2 separate regions of the Homo sapiens genome follow, and region 1 is linked to region 2. Evidence: promoter capture Hi-C in 16 types of primary human blood cells and fetal thymus (Javierre and others, 2016). All regions are on one chromosome and are shown on one strand. Each heading gives the region's core, a stretch centred on a gene start or on the middle of the fragment in contact. The rest is flanking DNA. Distances are from core to core; before and after follow the strand shown. Region 1 overlaps LINC03006 (long intergenic non-protein coding RNA 3006). Region 2 holds the start of TMEM248 (transmembrane protein 248).

Region 1 (6,071 bases), core at 2,949-5,448, 1.2 Mb after region 2:
GTCAAACTGTGATGATATCTTTTAAAAACATGTTTTCTGCCAAGTGCCTGTAATGCCAGCACTTGGGGAGGCAGAGGTGAGAGGACACCTTAATCCCAGGAATTCAAAACCAGGCTATGCAACATAAGGAGACTCCATTCTCCATAAAAAGAAAGGAAAAATGAACATATACATGTTTTCTAACTAAGTCTTTAGAAAAAAAAATTTTTTTAATTCCTCTACTGCTTCTCATTATGCTTTGTACCTAGCAATTCAATAAACGCCAAATGACTGATGTTGTTCACCTTTCGGAATAATTCTACCCATAAATACAACATAACATTCACCTTATTTCAGGAGAAAATATTACTAAAAGTAAAAACAATCTTCACCTAGCAATTTATCCAACTTATATCTTTACCTAGCAATTTATCCAACTGATATCTTCAGGTAAATATACAATATTTTATATCCAAATATATTAAAAATTTTGCCAACAATATATATTGTACAAAGCACCCCTAAATTTCAAAACACACTTTATTAGTTTCTTTTTTTTTTTTTTTTGAGATGGAGTTTTGCTCTTATCACCCAGGCTGGAGTGCAATGGTGTGGTCTTGGCTCACTGCAACCTCCGCCTCCCAGTTTCAAGCAATTCTTCTGCCTCAGCCTCCCAAGTAGCTGGGATTACATGAGCCCGCCACCATGCCTGGCTAATTTTTGTAATTTTAGTAGAGACGGGGTTTCCCCATGTTGGCCAGGGTGGTCTCGAACTCCTGACCTCAGGTGATCTACCCACCTCGGCTTCCCAAAGTGCTGGGATTACATGCCTGAGCCACCAGGCCCGACCATTAGTATTTCATAGTCTTCTACCACCTACCTTGTATCAGTTTCAGATTTATGTTTCTTGTCAATGATCACAAAATCATGAAGAGATCAATAGGTTCATCTTTTCTTTTAATGGCCAAAATGGAGCCCACTACAGCCTGCAATAGGAGAAGGATAACCATTAAGTAAATTCAATTTGCAGCAGCAGAAACATGTTGCTTTTCAGAAGGCTAAAGTAGACAGTTTCTTCATTTTACAATCTCTACACTGATTTGTATTTTTCTATAAGCAGATAGAATACATTATATATGAACAGCTGTTACATTTCTGAAATCTCAATCTGTAATTCTCAAACATTAACATTCCTTAACATTAACATTCCTCCTGGTGTTTCATTAAAAATACTGATAACTGGAAGCTTTCTAATAACAAAATCTCCACTTTATAAACCTTTTAATGAAAGCTCCAATTTTACTTTTAAAACCCGGTTAGGTATACTATTATTTGAATTTCCTCATTTTACTTTTTAGAGACACAGATTAGGTATCACTGCCACAAAAATGAACCTACATAGCACCTTGTGATTGAAATTGGTAATTATATTCATGTTTCTACTATCAGAGATTTTCTACATAGGTGTACCATACCAGACACAGACAAAATTTAATACATACCTCTGTTAAGACATCTGCAAGTTCAGCATGAACTTTAGTACAAAGAGATGCCCTGGCCACATCTTTAAGTGTTTCCTTGTCCATCTCTCTGCTTACTTTGACTTCTTCCAAAAAATGAAGGGCTTTTCCTTCACAGCTTCAAATCCTTCAGTGATTATTCTGGGATGAAGGCCCTACAATAAACACACAATAACACTTGCATCTTCAATTAGGTGCAACTATAGTTCATGATAAAGTTCAGACAATTCTTGGAGGGATACTCTGATCATCCTATCTTTGAACACGAGGTAATATAATGTGCTGGCTTTCTGAATACATTTAAAAGGATAAATATTCCTTTTAATGCAGAGGAGAAGAGCAGGCAATGCTCTAGCACAGGGTCAAAGCCAAGGGAACTATAAAGCACACTTGGGTGTTCACTGTGCAAACCACTCCGAATCATGTCAAAACCGACACTGTGTCCCAACAACTCACAGATGGTAGCATTATTCTATCTTTTCTATAGGTAATCTCAAACTAATTCCATCATTTACTAATAAAAATAAATAAAGACTATCTGCTCTCTTTTACCCGAAAATTCTGACAATAGATTCGTAGTCACTGAGGTTTGTTTTAAACCTTGGAACTAGTCAGGGCTAAAAAAGTGGAATTTATCTAAATGTAAGCTTTTGGTTGTCTCTTTCCTAACAAATAAATATGCCTAGTCCTAAACATCCCATTTTAAAATCTCAATTATTAATCTAAAGACAGATACAAATCACATAGGCAATTCAACTTGATTACAAAATTATTTTCAGGCCAAAAAAGGTTCCATAACCTGTCCAAGCTCACAACAAATTTGTTTTAGACCAAGACAAAGACCCAGATTTAAGCCCCCTAATCCTACTGTATGGCCTCCGCTAGTATTAACACATCAATTTGTATAAATAAGTATCTGACACGTCCTATATACAATAATATATTACAGAAACAAGAGTTGTGTGCCGGGCGCGGTGGCTCACGCCTTTAATCCTAGCACTTTGGGAGGCCAAGATGGGTGGATCACCTGAGGTCAGGAGTTGGAGACCAGCCTGACCAACGTGGAGAAACCCCGTCTCTGCGACAAATACAAAATTAGCCGGGCGTGGTGGCGCATGCCTGTAATCCTAGCTACTGAGGAGGCTGAGGCTGGGAATTGCTTGAACCCAGGAGACAGACGTTGCAGTGAGCCGAGATGCCATTGCACCCCAGCCTGGGCAACAAGAGTGAAATCCCATCTCAAAAAAACAAAACAAAAAAAAGTTGTGCATACTTCAGAAATGTAGAGATCTGCCTGTTTCAGCAGCTCTCCAATGATTAGGACATTGGAAGTCGTACCATCACCAGTTATATCATCCTGGGCTGTTGCTACCTTTGCTATTAAGGAAGCTGTTGGGTGTTGAATTTGCTGAAAGTAGAAAAAGAACGAATCACTTAAAACAATATGAAACAGTCTAAAAATACCACAAATAAAATGCATGAAGGGCCTCTTTAAGTACTATCTACTTGAAAAAGCTACCCAAGTGTTTGGCTACAAATTACTAAGATTAAAAAGTCACAATTTGCTATCATGCGCATGCAATTATAATGATGGAAACATTTTCATGTGTAATTTATTTCCCAGGTTATCTCTACTTTACAGATGAGGAAGCTTGAGGCTCAGTGAAAGTTTACGCAAGATGACAGCTAACAGTTAACAGTAACGGATAATTTTACATCCTTGCCTCTTTAGGCAAGTGTAGGGCTCTACGAGAATAAGCCAGGTATCTCCTAAAATGAAAGCTCAGCAGCCTCCACTGTTACTCTGCAATGGCCAAGTAATTTAAAAGGAAAGGTCAGGTGCGTTAGCTCATGCCTGTAATCCCAGCACTTTGGGAGGCCACAGCAGATGGATCCCTTGAACTCAGGAATTCGAAACCAGCCTGGGCTACATGGCAAAATCCTATCTCTTAAAAAAAAAAAAAAGCGGAAAAAAATTGTATTTTAAAGGTAAAATGACATGTCTGCAGCTTACCTTCAAATGATTCAGAGGAAAAATAGAAAAGAAATGGAGCAACATGTAAACAATTGGTGAATCTAGGTAAAGGGCACACACAATATAATCATTATTTTCGTAGGTTTGTAATTTTTTCAAAGAAAACTGAAAAACAGACTTCTGGAGATTGGAGAGAAGTTCCAGTGGGAGGGGACTTCTGAGGTGGTAGCAACAATTTATTTCTTAACTACAATAGTGGTTGTGTGTGTCCACTTTATAATTATTTCCTAAATTGTAAATGTTCTACGTGCTTCTCTCTACTTATGCTGTATTTCTCACACACTAAAACCCAAATAAATTTTTTTTTTTTTTTGGTGACAGTCTCACTCTGTCACCTAGGCTGGAGAGTGCAGTGGCACAATCTTGGCTCACTGAAACCTCAGCCTCCCAGGTTCAAGCAATCGATTCTCCTGCCTCAGCCTCTGGAGTAGCTGGGACTACAGGCGTACAGAACCATGCCTGGCTAATTTTTGTATTTTCAGTAGAGACGGAGTTTCACCATGTTGGCCAGGGCTGATCGTGAACTCCTGGCCTCAAGTGATCCACCTACCTCGGCCTTCCAAAGTGCTGAGATTACAAGAATGAGCCACTGCACCCGGCCCCAAAACAATTCTGACGTCAAGTTTAACCGTGGCTCCACTTTTCTGCTAACACGAGCCACCACTGAACCCAGTAAAAACAAAAACACCTCCTAGATTAGCAAGTCTTTATTAAAGATATTTCATCTGGATGTTGATAGCATGGTATACTACTAGCAAAACCCTGATTATTCTGAACTCAAATCAGCAGGAAATCATTTCCCTTTCTTGGATTTGAACTGTTAAGTTTTGGGAATTTAGGGATGAGTAAAACGCATACTCCCTTCAATAATCTCATATTCTCCATCCCTAAGACTTTAAAAATGTTAAAGCAAAGAGATTTCTCTCCCCTCCAGTTGGAGATGGAGATGAGACATAACAGAGAAATTGCTGTTTTAAAAAGAGAAAAACCGGCCAGATGCTGTGGCTCACGCCTGGTAATCCCAGCACTTTGGGAGGCTGACTCAGGCGGATCACCTGAAGTCATGAGTTCAAGACCGGCCTGGCCAACATGGTGAAATACCATCTCTACAAAAAATACAAAAATTAGCTGGGCATGGTGGAGCAAGCCTGTAATCCCAGCTACTTGGGAGGCTGAGACAGGAGAATCACTTGAACCCAGGAGGCGGAGGTTGCAGTGAACCACTGGACTCCAGGCTGGGCGACAGAGTGAGATTCTGTCTTAAAAAAAAAAAAAAAAAAAACCCATAAAGAGAAAAACCATCCTCATGCATTTTGCCCATGTGATTGTGTCAACCACCCTTAATTTTTCAAATTTTATTATAATTAATGTACAATTACAGTCCTTTAGCCCAGACTGTGAATGGCAAAAAAGCAGGGATTCAAAGACAGGGCTGTCAGACTCCAGGCACAGTCAGTACTATTACTGTCACTGTTACATGTCACTTCTGAATGTTCTCCTACCTTGAGAATGGACATTGCAAATCTTTCTACAAAGCAAAAGTTCTACGGAAAATCAAGACATTTCTGACCTAGCAGAGCACCTCTCACCATTTCGTGAAGCAGCGCACTGTGCAGGACCGTGCCCGGCTAATTTTTGTATTTTTAGTAGAGACTGAGTTTCACCATGTTGGCCAGGGCTGATCGTCAACTCCTGTGTCTTTAGTAAGCTTGATGTCTCCAGCGCCAGAAACAAGACTGTTTAAGGGACAGAAATCAATCAAATTGTGACAAAAACGAAATTAAAACGAAAACTAAATTAAAAAGTCCCATTAGAAAATGGGCTTTTCCAGCCGGGTGCGGTGGCTCACGCCTGTAATCCCAGCACTTTGGGAGGCCGAGGCGGGTGGATCTCGAGGTCAGGATATCGAGACCATCCTGGCTAACACGGTGAAACCCCATCTCTACTAAAAATACAAAATAAATAAATAAATAAATAAATAAAGCAAGCTGGGCGTGGTGACGGGCGCCTGTAGTCCCAGCTACTCGTGAGACTGAGGCAGGAGAAAGACATGAACCCGGGAGGCGGAGCTTGCAGTGAGCCGAGATCGCGCCACTGCACTCTAGCCTGGGTGACAGAGCGAGACTCTGTCTCAAAAAAAAAAACAACAAAAAACCAAAACAAACAACAAAAAAGGACTTTTCCCAGATCTCAGGGAGCCAGGGATATGGAGCTAGTTATCAACGAAAACTAAATTAAAAAGTCCCATTAGAAAACGGGCTTTTCCCCGATCTTAGGGAGCCGAGAATATGGAGCTAGTTATCTCCCGCAGGCTGGAGGACAAGTGTAGTGCCCACCCCGTCCCCGCAGAGATTGTGCAGAGTCCTCAGGGTGTCTGGAAGCCCAAGAAGGCGGGGAACGCCGCACACTAGAGCCGCTTTTTTCTCCATGGAGACGGCATCGACGCAGGAAGAAATGGACGCAACGGTGGGGCTTAGCAGGGAACAGGACCGGCCCGGGAGGACGCGAGGAAGGGTGGCTGCGGAGCCCCGAGGCAG
Region 2 (6,423 bases), core at 47-2,546:
CTAGAGAGTAAATGCACTTAGGGTCAATGCACACCTAAGTATACCTTAGGTGCGCGACAGGTCTATTTCCTGTCAGAATCCCTAGATGAAAAGAGGAAGTAGATGGACACCCTTATCGGTCAAGCGCTGATGGAACACTCATCTACAAATGAGATACACATGCTGAGACCCTAAGCTGACCCAAGCTGATGGTGCTATCGAGACAAACCACTTTATCACATATTCATCAGCAGTCTCGGAGTTTTTCTTCCCATTCCCTCCCGTAGCGGCTCACCTTTGAGGCAGGAAAGAAGCAGTTCAGGCGGAAGCCACAATCTTTACAAAGCAGGCTTCAGAGAAGCTCACCATTCATCAGCCAGTGAGGGCTGTCACCTGCTAGTTGAGAACTAAACTCAGACATCAGATTCTTCCACAAAGGCCTCCTCACCAGCTGTCCGATGGGTACGGCGTTCAAACGACTCAAAACAGCACAACAAGCCTGGTTTTATTTCTGATGGTCCCCATCAAGGGAACTGAAACTACATGCCTCTAGATTACCTTGCGATCACTCCTCATTTTATTAAAAACATGAAGAAAGAATCCACCCCATTCCGGATATTTACCAAGCTTGACACAGGGAACACCACTATGCCATTTAACTTTGTGGACGTACGTGAGTCTCTCCCTCCCACCTTTCTGAGATGTGTTTCACTGCCAAACGGAGAAGAAACGCAAACACTCCCCAAAGCCGAAAAATGGCAAACGACCAAGATGTTTCCCGTGCCAAATCCGAATTATCCAGGCCTCGGCTCCAGACGTGGGAAGTCCCGCCATCTCCAAGGCCGGCAGGGAACCCTGGCTCGGGGGACGCGAGTGGGCAAACCCCAGTGTGGGGGGACCAGGCCGAGGTCGGCCGATGCTGGGCGACCCCCGCCAGCAGTTGGGGCGGGGTCTGCACCCTGAGAAGCGGTGAAAAAAGCCGGCGGAGGAGCCGCTCCCGACCAGCACGCTCCCCGCTCCCGGCCCCGCGGGCAGCCCCGACTGGGCCCGACCCCAGCCCGCCCTCCAGCCCCGGCTCACCCCGCCCCGGCGGGCAGCTGCGCGCCCCGGGCCCAGCCGGGCCAGCTGCTCGGCGGACGCCCGCGGTCGCGCTGGGCTCACTCGTGGCGGCGCGTGGCGGGCCCGAGGCCGCTAGGCACCATCTTCTCCCCGCGCCGGGGGCAGCGTCTGGCTCCGCGGGGCCGACGCGAAGACCAGACGCCAACCGGGCTCCCGCCGCCGCCTCAGTTCGGGCTCCGGCAACCGCGGTTTCCGGGTGAAAAAAAAAAAAAAAACCACGCCACCTCCAACGCCGCCGTGACCTCCGACCCCGGGCGTCCGACGGTGGCGCGGCCGGGACAAGCTTCGTCAGAGGCAGGCGGCGGAGACCACGCTTCCGGGACGGGTAGCGTGCATGCGGACGTGCGTGGAGTGCGTGATGGACGTTTATGGGTCTGTGTGCCGGTCTGGTGTTGTGCGTGTGCGTGTGTGCGTAGTGCGTGTATGTGGCTTGTAGTGTGCATCGTGTACAACGGTGTGTGCAGTGAGTGCATGTATGTGCATCTGTGTGCGCGTGTGTGGTGTGTGATGGTATGGGTGTGTGCATGCGTAGATGTGTAGGGAGTGCGCACACGTGTGCATGCTCATGTGTGTGCTATGCGTGTGTCTGTTGATGTGCTTGTATATTAATCACTGCTGATAAACATGTAATTTTGGACCAGGCGCGGTGGCTCAGGCCTGTAATCTCAGCACTTTGGGAGGCCAAGGCAGGAGGATCGCTTGAGTCCTGGAGTTCCAGACCAGCCTGGGTAACATAGGGAGTCTCTGACTCTATTTATAAATAAAATAAAATGAAAATGAAAATTTTTAAAGTATAATTTTGTACAATCACTTTGCAAAGTAATTTGGCATTATGCAGTACACTTAAAGATATACACATCCTCTCTTGAGAATATATTACCCTGGAGAAACAGTTGCACCTATGCACAAGTAGACAAAATAATGCTCATAGCAACACCAATGTTTTTAGCAGCAGTATGACTCACTAAAAATTGGGGAGAAAAAGCAGATGTCCATACAGTCAAATGTAAAAACCAACTTTGATATATTCATGGTTTGGTTTGTTTTTGTAGAGACAGGGTCTCCCTATGTTACTCAAGCTGGTCTCGAACTACTGGACCCAAGTGATCCTCCCACCTCGGGAGGATCTGGGATTACAGGTGTGAGCTGCCACGCCTGGCCCATCTTCGTGTTTAATCGGGTACAAAAGACCAGTGAAAATTATTTAATACAGCTCACACAATTATGGTAGTCAATTGCAGACTATATTGGCAGGGACCAAATCACAAAATGGTACACTGCTACATATTTCCATTATGTAAAATTCAAAACAGGCAAGTTCATAACATATTGTTTAGAGATGCATACATAATTGTTTGAACTGACATGAAGCATGAGAAAAAGATGTATAAACTTCATGTTAAGTGTTAGGGGAATGGGATGGGGGAGGAGTACAGGGTGCTTTAAAGGTAATAAAGTTTTGTTGTTCTTGCTTTTGAGACAAGGTCTTGCTCTGTCACCCAAGCTGGAGTGCAGTCGCATGATCATGGCTCACTGCAGACTCGGCCTCCCAAGCTGAAGTGATCCTCCTGTCTCAGCCTCCTGAGTAGCTGGGACCACAGATGTGCACCATCGTGCCCAGCTAATTTTCATATTTTTCACAGAAATGGGGTTTCCCCCAAATTGCTCAGGCTGGTCTCAAACTCCTGGGCTCAAGTGATCCGCTCACTTCCACCTCCCAAAGTGCTGGGATTACAGGCATGAGCCACCACACCCAGCCATCTTTAACAAAAGTTTATCAGGTGAAGCCTGTAATGTTCAACACAATGGCTCAGTTCCTTCACTGAATACCCTCTTATTTCCATGATTCTTGCCCTCTTTTGTTATCTTGCACCATTTGAATTATCTTCCTTGTTGTAATGGGTGTGACATTATCTGCAAGTGCAGGCAGTATTGAATTGTGTATATAATGATGGAACCAAACTTCCTAATGAGATGTCCCTTACCAGGCTAGGACTGATAATGTAATTAAAGGAGCCCCACCACCAATGGCACCATATATGACTTAGTGATTGAGACCGTAGGAGAATGTAAAAAAGGCAACCTCAAACCTTTCATCCTAGCTGCCTTGTATGGGATTTCAAAAAAAATTTTTGTTTTTGTTTTGAGATGGAGTCTCGCTCTGTCGCCCAGGCTGGAGTGCAGTGGCACGATCTTGGCTCACTGCAACCTCTGCCTCCTGGGTTCAAGCGATTCTCCTGCCTCAGCCTCCTGAGTAGCTGGGATTACAGGCGCATGCCACCACGCCCCGCTAATTTTTGTATTTTTAGTAGAGAAGGTGTTTTGCCATGTTGGTCAGGCTGGTCACGAACTCCTGGCCTCAAGTGATCTGCCCACCTTGGCCTCCCAAACTGTTGGGATTACAGGTGTGAGCCCGAGTCCAGTAAAAAAAAAAAAAAAAAAAAAGAAACCTTTTTAAATAGAGACAAGGTCTCACTGTGTTGCCCAAGCTGGTTTTGAGCTTCTGGCCTTAAGCAATCCTCCTTACTCAGCTTCCCAAAGAGCTGGGATTATACGTGTGAGCTACCATGTCCAGCTGGATTGTAAAATTCTTTTTTTAAAAAAAGATTACATGGTGCAGCCACTTTTAAACAACAATCTGGCAATTTCTCAAAAAGTTTAACATAGAGTTATCATTTGAAGCCAGGTGTGTTGGCTCACGCCTGTAGTCCCAACAGTGGGAGGCTGAGGCAGGAGGATCGCTTGAGCCCAGGAGTTCAAGACCAGCCTGGCCAACATGGTAAAACCCTGTCTCTACTAAAAAATAAAAATAAAAAAATTAGCTGGGCATGGTGGTGGGCACCTGTAATCCCAGCTACTCAGGAGGCTGAGGCAGGAGAATCACTTGAACCTGGGAGGCAGAGGTTGCAGTGAGCTGAGATTGCGCCACTGCCCTCCAGCCTGGGCAACAGAGTGAGACTGTCTAAAAAAAAAAAAAAAAAAAACCATTCTGGAAAACATAGCAAACCCCATCTCATAAATAAATGAACAAGTTCTAAGACATATGGCTTTATTTAAAAAAATAAAAAGTTACTGGCCACATGTGGTGGCTCACGCCTTTAATCCCAGCACTTTGGGAGCCCAAGGTGGGTGGATCACTTGAGGTCAGGAGTTTGAGACCAGCCTTGCCAACATGGCGAAACCCCGTCTCTACTAAAAATACAAAAAATTAACCGGGTTTGGTGGCCGGTGCCTGTAATCCCAGCTACTTGGGAGGCTGAGATGAGTGGCTTGAACCCAGGAAGCAGAGGTTGCAGTGAGCTGAGATCACGCCACTGCACTTCAGCCTGGGCGACAGAGCCAGACCTTGTCGCCAAAAAAAATAAAAGTTACCATTTGACCTCACAATTCCACTCCTGGAGATCCAAGAGAATTGCAAACAAAAATTCCAAACAAAAAGTTGTACAGGAGTGTTTATAGCAGCATCATAATAGCCAAAAAGTGGAAGCAACTCAAATGTTCATCAACTGATTAATGGAAAAACAAAATGTAGCAAATTCACAAGCAGAATGGTATTCAGCCATGAAAAGGAATGAAGAAATAATGCATACTACAGCATAGATGAATGTTGAACACATTATGCCAAGTGAAAGAAGCCAGTCACAAAAGGCCCTGTATTGGATGATTGCGTGTCTATGAAATGTCCAGAATAGACACATTTATGGAACAGAAAGCAGATTGGTGGTTGGGTTGCCTAGGGTGGGTAAGAGGCAATTGGGAGGTGGTAATAGCCAGGGAGTTTCTTTTGGGAGTGATGAAAATATTCAAAAACAGGCAGTGCGCAGTGGCTCATGCCTGTAATCCCACTACTTTGCGAGGCTGAGGCTGGTGGATCACTTGAGGTCAGGAATTTGACACCAGCCTGGCCAACATGGTGAAACTCCATCTGTGTTAAAAATACAAAAAATAGCCAGGCGTTGTGGTGCCTGCCTGTAATCCCAGTTACTCGAGAGACTGAGGCACGAGAATCACTTGAACCTGGGAGGCGGATATTGCAGTGAGCCAAGATCGTGCCATTGCACTCCAGCCTGGGCGACAGAGCAAGACTCTGTCTCAAGAAAAAAAAAATTATGATGATGGTTGCACAATTCTGTGATTAAACTAAAAACCACTGAAGTGTACACTTTTAATTGAGTTAATTGTATGTATGTTAATTAGATCTAAACAAACTTTTTTTTAAGGTTAAGGCTTTACAAAAGAAATAAAACCAAAACAAGAAAAGGGATAAAAATATAGGCTCTAATCATGTGGAAATCCTTAGACAGTTAATTTTTAAATGGCATGAAAAAGAAGGAAATTGACAAAGAGCCTACAAAACTTTGAGATAATTTTCTAGGAATCTGGGGTTCCCACCGTGAAGTCTCCTCAAACTCCTTAGCATATACAGTTCTGAGGCTTAGAGAAGTTTCAGAAAGAAAATTCTTCCAATGAACCTACAGCATTGAATGCCAAAATACCCATGTTTGTTTGGGTTTTTTTATTTATTCATTTTGAGACAGGGTCTTGTTCTGTTGCCCAGGTTGGAGTGCAGTGGCACAATCATAGCTCAGTGCAGCCTCAACCTGTCGGGTTCAAGCAATCCTCCTGTCTCAGCCTCCCAAGTAGCTGGGACTACAGATGCGTGCTACCACTTCCAGCTAATCTCTTTATTTTATGCTTTGTAGAAACTGTCCATTGCCCAGGCTGGTCTCAAACTCCCAGGCTCAAGCAATCCTCCCACCTCAGCCTCCCAAAGTGCTAGGATTACAGGTGTGAGCCATCGCATCCATCCCCCACTTTTACTATTAAGTCAGTAGTCCCTTGTTCCATACTTGCAAATTTTTATTTAACATTGAGATGGTTTCAAAATTAAAAAATTAGGCAGAGCATGGTGGCTCATGCCTGTAATCTCAGCAATTTGGGAAGCTGAGGCCGGAGGATCACTTGAGGTCAAGAGTTCGAGACCAGCCTGGCCAACATGGTGAAACCCTATCTCTACTACAAATTCAAAAATGAGCCAGACATGGCGGCGGGCGCCTGTAATCCCAGCTACTTGGGAGGCTAAGGCAGGAGAATCGCTTGAACCCAGGAGGTGGAGGTTGCAGTGAGCCGAGATCAGGCCACTGCACTCCAGCCTGGGTGATAGAGTGAAACGCCATCTAAAATAATAATAATAATAATAATAATAATAATAATAATAATAATAATAATAATAAAATAAAAAAGTAAGTGACATTCCTTATCAAAAAAAGAATCAATGTGGTAATAGTGAAAGAAGATCGACAAGAAGGACTGAACCTCGTGATC

What was found. Contacts are between HindIII fragments. The CHiCAGO score rates a contact against its expected background, and 5 or more counts as called.
Region 1: a contact is called between a fragment that was not itself captured here and the fragment with the promoter of TMEM248 in region 2, in 4 of 17 cell types (fetal thymus, naive CD8 T cells, non-activated CD4 T cells and 1 more). The highest score is 7.2, in fetal thymus.

The regions. Positions count from the first base shown.
Region 1 is chr7:65,751,363-65,757,433 of GRCh38, reverse strand. The region is part of intron 2 of LINC03006 (long intergenic non-protein coding RNA 3006); the gene reads left to right. It overlaps SNORA22 (small nucleolar RNA, H/ACA box 22), which reads right to left and starts at 1,908; the gene lies at 1,775-1,908. It also overlaps the pseudogene CCT6P1. The HindIII fragment of the contact is 2,092 bases long and covers 3,153-5,244 here.
Region 2 is chr7:66,916,098-66,922,520 of GRCh38, reverse strand. It overlaps TMEM248 (transmembrane protein 248), which reads right to left and starts at 1,296. Exons shown (of 7, transcript NM_017994.5): 1 at 1,060-1,296. RefSeq lists a silencer at 1,005-1,254. The HindIII fragment of the contact is 775 bases long and covers 609-1,383 here.